2 separate regions of the Homo sapiens genome follow, and region 1 is linked to region 2. Evidence: promoter capture Hi-C in 16 types of primary human blood cells and fetal thymus (Javierre and others, 2016). All regions are on one chromosome and are shown on one strand. The core of a region is centred on a gene start or on the middle of the fragment in contact, and the rest is flanking DNA. Distances in the headings are between cores, read along the strand shown. Region 1 overlaps NCOA7 (nuclear receptor coactivator 7). Region 2 holds the start of NCOA7-AS1 (NCOA7 antisense RNA 1).

Region 1 (4,104 bases), core at 1,515-4,014, 80 kb before region 2:
CCCATCCCACTGAAAGCCACTTCTACTGCTCAATCAAATCTCCACATTCACCATCCTTCAAGGCCATGGGACCTGATTTCTTCCTGGATGCTGGACAAGAACCCGGGTACCAAGAGGGCAGGGTGAAAAGGGCTATCACCCTGACTCTCCACTAAGCTGGTTTAACACTTAGTCATCCATGGATGGCAAATGCTAAAAGAGCACTGTTTGTAACCTATGACCTCTGGGGCTCCAGTGGTCGTGGGCAACCCCTAGACGCTACTATGGGCTGGTACAGGGTTCATTCCCACTGGTGCCCAAAGGCACCCGCCCCAGCTCCTGTACCCACTCACCTGCGTGCTCCCCCTCCTGCAAGGGGTTTCAGTGCAGCAGCTGAGTAAAGGTGATATCCCTGTTGCAAGTCCCACAAAGGGGTCAAGGGAACTCTCTCATCTCATTGCCATTTACATTGTTGTAAACCAACAAACGTACTCAAAATAACCCAGAACAGTTAAGGAATTATTGCCCTATCAAAAGCTGCATGACTGGTAGGAAAAGGAACTGGGGGCACACACAGCAAAATATAATCCCGAAACTCACTTGACTTAAAACTGATAAGCAGGAACCATTAAACAATTTAATAGCTATTACATTAAAAACATACTTCAGAGTATATTATGGCACAGAGAATGGGAAATACTGAAAGAGGACATGTAAAGAAAGGAAAGAAGAATGTGCCCTAGAAAGTACTGAAACGCATATGCATGCAGTTTCGTTGGTCACTTGTATTGTCCATCATAAATTATTCAAATGCATGTCTGTCTAAAACTTCTGGGGGTTCCATTCTGAAAACAGCTACAGAAGCCCAGTAGGGCAAAGCAGTTTTCACCACAGAGGTTGCTGCTAGAAAACGACTGCCTTTAAAAATCCAGTCCTAATGGCCTGGCTGGAAATTCTCATGTGAAAAAGGTAATTTTCCTTGCACTGTAGGGCCTCTTCCAGTTTCAGTATTCTAAAACTCCAAATTAAATCAATGGTTAGTAATACCCAGGTATAATGTCCATTTTTAAAGGGTCTTAGTGTGTCTATAAAAAAAAAACAACTTTATTTATTTACAAACCAACTACTCTTCTTTGAATCTAATGTACAACAATGTGACTATAATTAACAATGCATTGTAGACAGGTCCTTTTTTGCTAACGAGTGTTCTTACCACACATACCAAAAAAGAAGAAAATGGCAACTAACTGTGTGGTAATGAGGATGTTTAATTAGCTCCATTGTGATGTATATTTCACAATGTACACATACATGAAATCATCAGGTTGAACATCTCAAAAATACATAATTTTAAGTTGTCAACTCTATCTCAATAAAGCTGGAAAGAAAAATACTCTTTGGTTCACCAAAAATAATAGGAACGCTCTGTTGAGAAAGCTCAAAACAGCAGTTGTGGTTATAAAAAGGATTACTTGAAAATGAATAAAAACGTAAAAGTTTATATTAATATCAATGCCAGAGGCCTCAGGCTGGCAGCCCATAGCGTGGATTCAGAAGTAAATATGTTTTCTTTGCTCTGCTCACTATCTTTAAAATTAAACAGTGGACAATACTTAACAACTGGGGAGATTTAATATATTTAATCGATATTTCGGCTTCCTTTTTGAAAAAGATGAGAAGATGTAGCAACACCCCAGGCCTGTGTTCCCATTCCCACCTAGCTACAGAGGTCCACAGCCCCTACTGGTAGAGAAGGAGCTCTATAATTAACCCTGGCCTCATGCTTCCTTTACCCCCATTCCACAGCCCCTGCAGGCATTTAGGTTTGCAATCATTACTGTTTCTGCATACTTACTCCCAAACACTGTGTGCAGCACCCATTGGCAGGGATTAGTCTGCAGTGGAAATGGACCCTCAGCTATTCTCCAAAGCTACTTGTCTCCAAGCTTGCTCCGCCACCAGAAAGCACTGTGAAGAGCTCACTTACAAAGAAGATTATTTTTTCATGAGCTTACGTCTGACTGTAGAGTGAATGATTAACTCAAGGTATTTGCCAAAGCTGGTTACTGAAGTTACTGGGGGGTGGTTGCCTAAGAGGGTGTTTTTGGAGGGTAATGAATTTCTGGAATTTTCAGTTGATGAAAAAAAGGTAAAATAATCAGGAAGGGAGAGCAAGCAGTGTCACTTTAAAACATAAAATAATCAATAATTACATATTTGTTTAGGGGTTTTCCAAAATTCATACTAAATAGGAAGACAAGAAGACAATTCTTTCAGGGATGTTTTGGAGATCTTGTTTGGGTTTTTTCTTTACTAGTGACTTTCAACTTAAAGAATCATCATAAAATTACAGTATAACACATTGGTAAGTGGTACTTACGAATCACAGGGTTTGTATTCTGATATATACCTGGTATGGCTGAGTAGGACCTCAGTTGTTCCAGCAAGTACAGTACTAAAAAATGTTCAAGATTATGGTCTTCTTGGCACCAGGAGGCATTAAAGATTCCAGGTTAGCTGTGATCCCAGTAGAAGCAAGGTGACTTTTGATCAGAAAATTCCACATTAACTATGGTTAAAGATTTCATGCTAGAAAACTAGGTCAGTTTGTAATTCCTTTAATTCATCCCTTATTTCTAAGAAAAGGTGCTGTTAAGAGCATTTTGCTGTCTTCATGAAGGTCCTTAGGATTTGAACATCTTTCCATTGTAAAACAAGTTTAATAGGGAATCAATTTTATTTTTTATGATTCTCATTATAAAATAATTCATGCTCACTAAATGCATGTGAATAGAATATTTAATGGCAGAAAAATACACATTTTTAAGGAAAAGCAATTTACATATACTATATATGTATGATCTATATAGTATTATTACATTAATCCATGCATTGAAAGAAAGGCTAAAAGGCTATACAGATAAAATGAATTGTAGTTAGTTCTCTGTAACAAAACTATGAGATTTCAATTTTCTTCTTTTTGCTTTTCTGTATTTTCTAAATATTAGTCTGTATAATTTTAATTATAAGAAATAACAAATACATTTTTTATTTATTAGATTATAAGCTCATTTATTCATGAACCCATCCAACTAATGTTTAGGAATATGTATTATAGGCTGGGCACAATGGCTCATACCTGTAATCCTAGCACTTTTATGAAGGGTTTTTAAAAATACAGAAGGGGTTTAGACATGAGTCCTGAAGGCTTAAGATATTTTTGTGGGAATGAAACAAGATCAGAATAGTTTTTTTTTAGAAGATTATCATAGACATATGGTACAAAATAGGTTTTAAGAAGAGGAACTAAAGAATAGGAAATTGTTATTTTCAAGTACTACATTCACAATCAGAGTAGCACAAAGTCAAGAAGGGCATCAATTTGTTGCCCAATCTGCTCTCTTAATGCTCTCTGATTTAGCTCTGGGCAAACTGATAGCTGAGGTAGTGGGTTAATTTCTTTGATATTCCTCTTTGAGTTTTTAAGAGTAGAAATTCTCCTTGGGATGATGAAGATAACATGGGATGATCTTTGTAAAAATATGTGCTCAACCAGAATAATCTGATGCTTTTATAATGTTGCAATTCAGGCACCTGAATGACATCAGGGTCCAATGAAGCTTAGCACCCATAGTTTTAAAAATGAGTAAGATTTCAGATGGATGGCACATCATGAAAAGCTCAGTACTCATGACTTTCAGGCTTTGCTCTAAATGTTCCAGAACCAAGAGTGAATAGTTTAGAAAAAGAAAAAGAAGATAGAAAGAGAGTTGAAAAATCCTGACTATGATCGGTCATCAACTAGTCACTCCTAACAATAAAATATAGCTTTTGTGGCCAAAATGTTACTACATGGTCTTAGTATGTATGGATGCTACTACTCAACATGTCAAAAAGGGGCTGGGCATGGTGGCTCATGTCTGTAATCCCAGCACTTCGGGAGGCCGAGGCAGGCGGATCACTTGAAATCAGAAGTATGAGACCAGCCTGGCTAAAATGGTGAAACCCTGTCTCTACTAAAATGCAAAAATTAACCAGGCATGGTGGCAGGTGCCTGTAATGCCAGCTACTTGGGAGGCTGGGGCAGGAGAATTGCTTGAAGCCAGGAGACGGAGGCTGCAGTGA
Region 2 (4,034 bases), core at 722-3,221:
TCTTTGGGAAATGATATGGTTCCAATTTGGATTGTCGTTAAGTGTTCCTTCTTCCCTGATCTGAACAACAGGAGCAGCTCATGGGCTGAAAGTGGGAGGTCAAGATGAAAATTAGGTGAAGATGTAGGTAGACACAGAAGTAAGATCAGGAATGATTTGTTATTAAAGGAATGTGTGAGTACTCACTGTATCAGGTACTGTTCGTATATTACCCTCAATCTTCATAGCCATCTTGGTTTCATTTTACTTGAACACGAAAGCTACAAAGTGTACTATTCACACAACAGAGAAAGCTATACAGTGGGTTCAAATCTCCTCTGCCATGGAAAAGAGAATAAGGGGACCAGCTGTTCAGCTCTGGCCCTCCTTGCTGGGTCCCATTTGAGCTTCTCTCCAGTTCTGGCTGGTTGGGATGTCTCCTTCTTCAAAAGCATCTTGTTAGTTGGTTATTTTTAGCAACATTTAACAACTGAAGAAATGTAAGGTAAAGGAAGCTTAGAAGACTTGCCAGAGGTTATACACTGGAGTGAACTGCAAACACTAGGTGTTCTGCTTGTGGGTCAGAGGTTCAAGGGTGAAGAATTGCCAGGGCAGAGGCTGGAGATGGGAGCTAAGAAATGTTCTACACTTTGCATCCTTTGTCACTGAGAATGATGACAGAGGTGGTGCTGGCTCCTACTGCTGCTCTGAAAGGCTGGGTTAAGAGGAAAGCGGAGGTGGGAGCAGCAGTTCTGCTTTTCATGACAACCAGGGAATAGGGGAGGTGGGAGCCAACAAGGGACCTACATGAACACCCAGTCTGTGTCTTCGTCTATATTACTCACTGTTTACTCCCAGGCTCTCACACCTTATCAGAGGGGAAAAGTAAACCTCCCACAAAACACCATTTGGTTCAACTACAGATGTATTTTGGATATCTTCAATCAACGCTTGATCCTGAAAAAATGCTTTCAAAGAATCTTCAACCAATGGCATACAAGGACCTACTCGGAAATCACAAAAGCCAAATAATGTCAAGCAAGTGTGTAAGAAGACAGCCCTGTATGGCAATACTAAAGAAAATTTTGCATTCTAACTACAAGGGGAAGGAAGAGTCAGCAGGGGTGTAACAAATGACACATGATAGTCACCCCAGAGGATAGCATAAATTGTACACAGTACAAATAGTACAGAAAGTATAATTTGCTTTAGTAATTCAGTTTTTCATTTGGTTTTCAAGACCTGTCAGGGATCAAGAAATTAATATAGACATATACTAATTTTGCATATATAAATTATTTGCAAAACCATTTGTGAAAAAGTTTCACAAATCATTCAATCTAGATTTAACAACTGTTATAAAACTATCCTGAAGCACCTGAAAACCAGTTGGACCAGGGTCAGAAAATCCAAAAAATTCATCAGGTCTTATCCAGAATTACTCTATCTAGTAGCAGTATTAATCCACCCCTCTATTTAGAGTTACACAGGCATATTTCAAGATAAATTATAAGAAAGGAAAGACTGGGTGACCCTCAAATCACTAATTTCAATCCAAAATTATTAAAATAGGGTATTTTAAACTCTATTTTGATGTTAAAGAGCGAAACGTCAACAAAACAGGTTTGGCAAAGGACTATTTATCAAACACAGTCACACAACGATTATGAAACCACATGATAAGATAGCACACAAAGAAAACATTGGCTATTTAACTACTCAGGAGGAAAAACTAGGTGTTCCTAGTTTTTCCTAGGTGGAAGGGGGAAGCAGGCTAAAAAGCAGTTTTTAGGGTTTCAGATATGTAATTGTGGCAGCAGGCACAGCATCAGGGTAAATCTTCCTTTTGACTTCCTCAGAACACCAGTTGAGATTTATGTAAGGTGGTATAATTTAGTTTAGAGAAAACTGAGATTGCATCAGTTTGGCCTCACCCTTGGCCTGACATTTTATCCTTCTCTCCAGAGATCTTGCTTGGACTGCCCTTAAGTACGCTGCTCCAGAGAACTCTGCTCTACATTGTCAGAAACCAGCTTTCAAGTAAGTTCTGTTGCTAGTTCCACATGGTAATTCCACAGTTAAGTCAGAAGGCATTTGAAAAGATGTATAACTTTGGATGGCTCTTTTCTGATTATAGGCTGAAGGGGGTTCTTTTCTCTTTGGTTTGCCTTTTGCTTTTAATAGCTTGACCATTTCTGGCTTCCACTGCATTGTAAGAGCTAAACTACAGGTTTGTCAGTCAGTGTTTCTCTCTCTGTCTCTTTCTCTCTCTCCCTGCTCCTACCCCCTCTTCTCTCCATTCTCCTCTCTCCATCTCTCTCATTTCCTAGTTACAAATCATGTTGTCTTACTGTCTTAAGAGCATCACTGATTTCATCCTTGTGCCACTGTCCCTATGCTCCCAAGATCACATTTCAGCATTTTAGGATACGTTTTTTGTTTCATTTTTAGAATACTTTTCAGAAGAGGTCATGATAAGCAAGACAATTTTACATTTCTGAGTTGAAAAAACTGTGCTGCTCTTCCAGAACAGTTTTGGTTTGTATTCTCAGTTTCAGGGGCTCCCCTGACTCTACATTTTAGGAACAAGAAGAGGTTAACATTGAGCAGGTTGTTCATGAACCGGCAGTTACCTTTACTACAGGAATCACTTTGGATTCAGGCTGAGAAGGCACTATAGCTCTTAAAATCACTATGTAGGGCAAGTGAAGAAGAAAGAAAAGAAAGAAGAAGAAAGTAAGGAGGAGGAGGAAGGAGGAGGTGGGAGAAAGAAGGAAGGGGGAGAAGCGGGAAGGGGGAGGAGGAAGAAGAGGAGGAAGAGGAGCAGGAAGAGGAGCAGGAAGAAAGGGAGGAGGTGAGGAAGGGAGACGGGGAGGAAGGGGAGGAGAAGCATGACCACCATTTTGACCTAAACTCATATCTTATCCACAAATAAATTCAAAATGGATCACAGACTTAAATATAAAACATAATGCTATAAAATTTTCAGAAAAGAAAAACAGGAGAGAATCTTCAGAACATACAGCTAGGCAAAGAGATCTTAGAATTCAGACCAAAAGCACAATTCATAAAAGGAGAAACTGATAAATTGAACCACATCAAAATTAAAACCTTTTGCTCTGCAACTCTGTTAACTGGATGAAAAGACAAACTACAGTCCGGGAGAAAATATTTGCAAATCACATATCCAACAAAAGACTAGAATGTGTACAATTCAACAGTAAAAACCTAAACAATTCAATTAGAAAATGGGCAAAAGATAGGAAAGGAGATGCCACTAAAGAAGATACACTATGGCTAATAATAAGCACATGAAAATGTTAAACTTCACTAACCATTAAGGAAATACAAATTAAAACCATAATGAGATATCACTACATACTTATCAGAATAGCTAAGATAAAAATAAAAAATATTGACACCACCAAATGACAATGCAGACAAACTGGATTACTCAGACTTTGCTGATGGGAATGTCAAATGTTACAACCATTCCAGAAAAGAGTATTGCACTTTTTTATAAAACTAAAAATACACTTATCTTTTGACCCAGCAATTGCACTCTCAGACAATTATCTCAGGGAAATGAAAACTCATGCTCATACAAAAACTTGTACATAAATGATTGTAGCATCTAGCATCTTTGTTCATAAATAGCCCAAACTGGAAACAACCTAAATGCCCTTCAATGGGTAAATGACTAAAAAGCTGTGATTCATCCATACTATGGAATGCTACTGTGCAATAAAAAGGAACAAACTATCGATACATGCAACAGCTTTGAGGGATGTCAAGGGAGTAATGCTGAAGGGAAGAAAAAGCTAAATGCCAAAGGTTACATACTATATGATTCCATTCACCTAGTATTCTTGAAATGACAAATTATAGTGGTTGTCAGAGGAGGCAGGCAGATGGAAGGAGTGAGTAGGGATACAAAAAGGTAGCATGTGGGATCCTTTTAATGCAACTGTTCTGTATCTTGACTGATGGTGACCACAGAAATCTACATGTGATATAACTGCATGGAACTAAATACACACAAACACACATACAAT

What was found. The method cuts DNA at HindIII sites, captures the fragments that hold promoters and counts their contacts. A CHiCAGO score of 5 or more calls a contact.
Region 1: a fragment that was not itself captured here is called in contact with the fragment with the promoter of NCOA7-AS1 in region 2 in 7 of 17 cell types (non-activated CD4 T cells, activated CD4 T cells, naive CD8 T cells and 4 more); the score reaches 7.0 in non-activated CD4 T cells.

The regions. Positions count from the first base shown.
Region 1 is chr6:125,897,752-125,901,855 of GRCh38, reverse strand. The region is part of intron 10 of NCOA7 (nuclear receptor coactivator 7); the gene reads right to left. Among named protein-coding and RNA genes, the nearest start is that of HINT3, 57 kb to the left of the region's middle. The HindIII fragment of the contact is 1,674 bases long and covers 1,928-3,601 here.
Region 2 is chr6:125,816,795-125,820,828 of GRCh38, reverse strand. NCOA7-AS1 (NCOA7 antisense RNA 1) reads left to right here and starts at 1,971. Exons shown (of 3, transcript NR_126386.1): 1 at 1,971-2,019. All of the region lies in intron 2 of NCOA7 (nuclear receptor coactivator 7), which reads right to left. RefSeq lists an enhancer at 2,245-2,746. The HindIII fragment of the contact is 4,548 bases long and covers 497-4,034 here.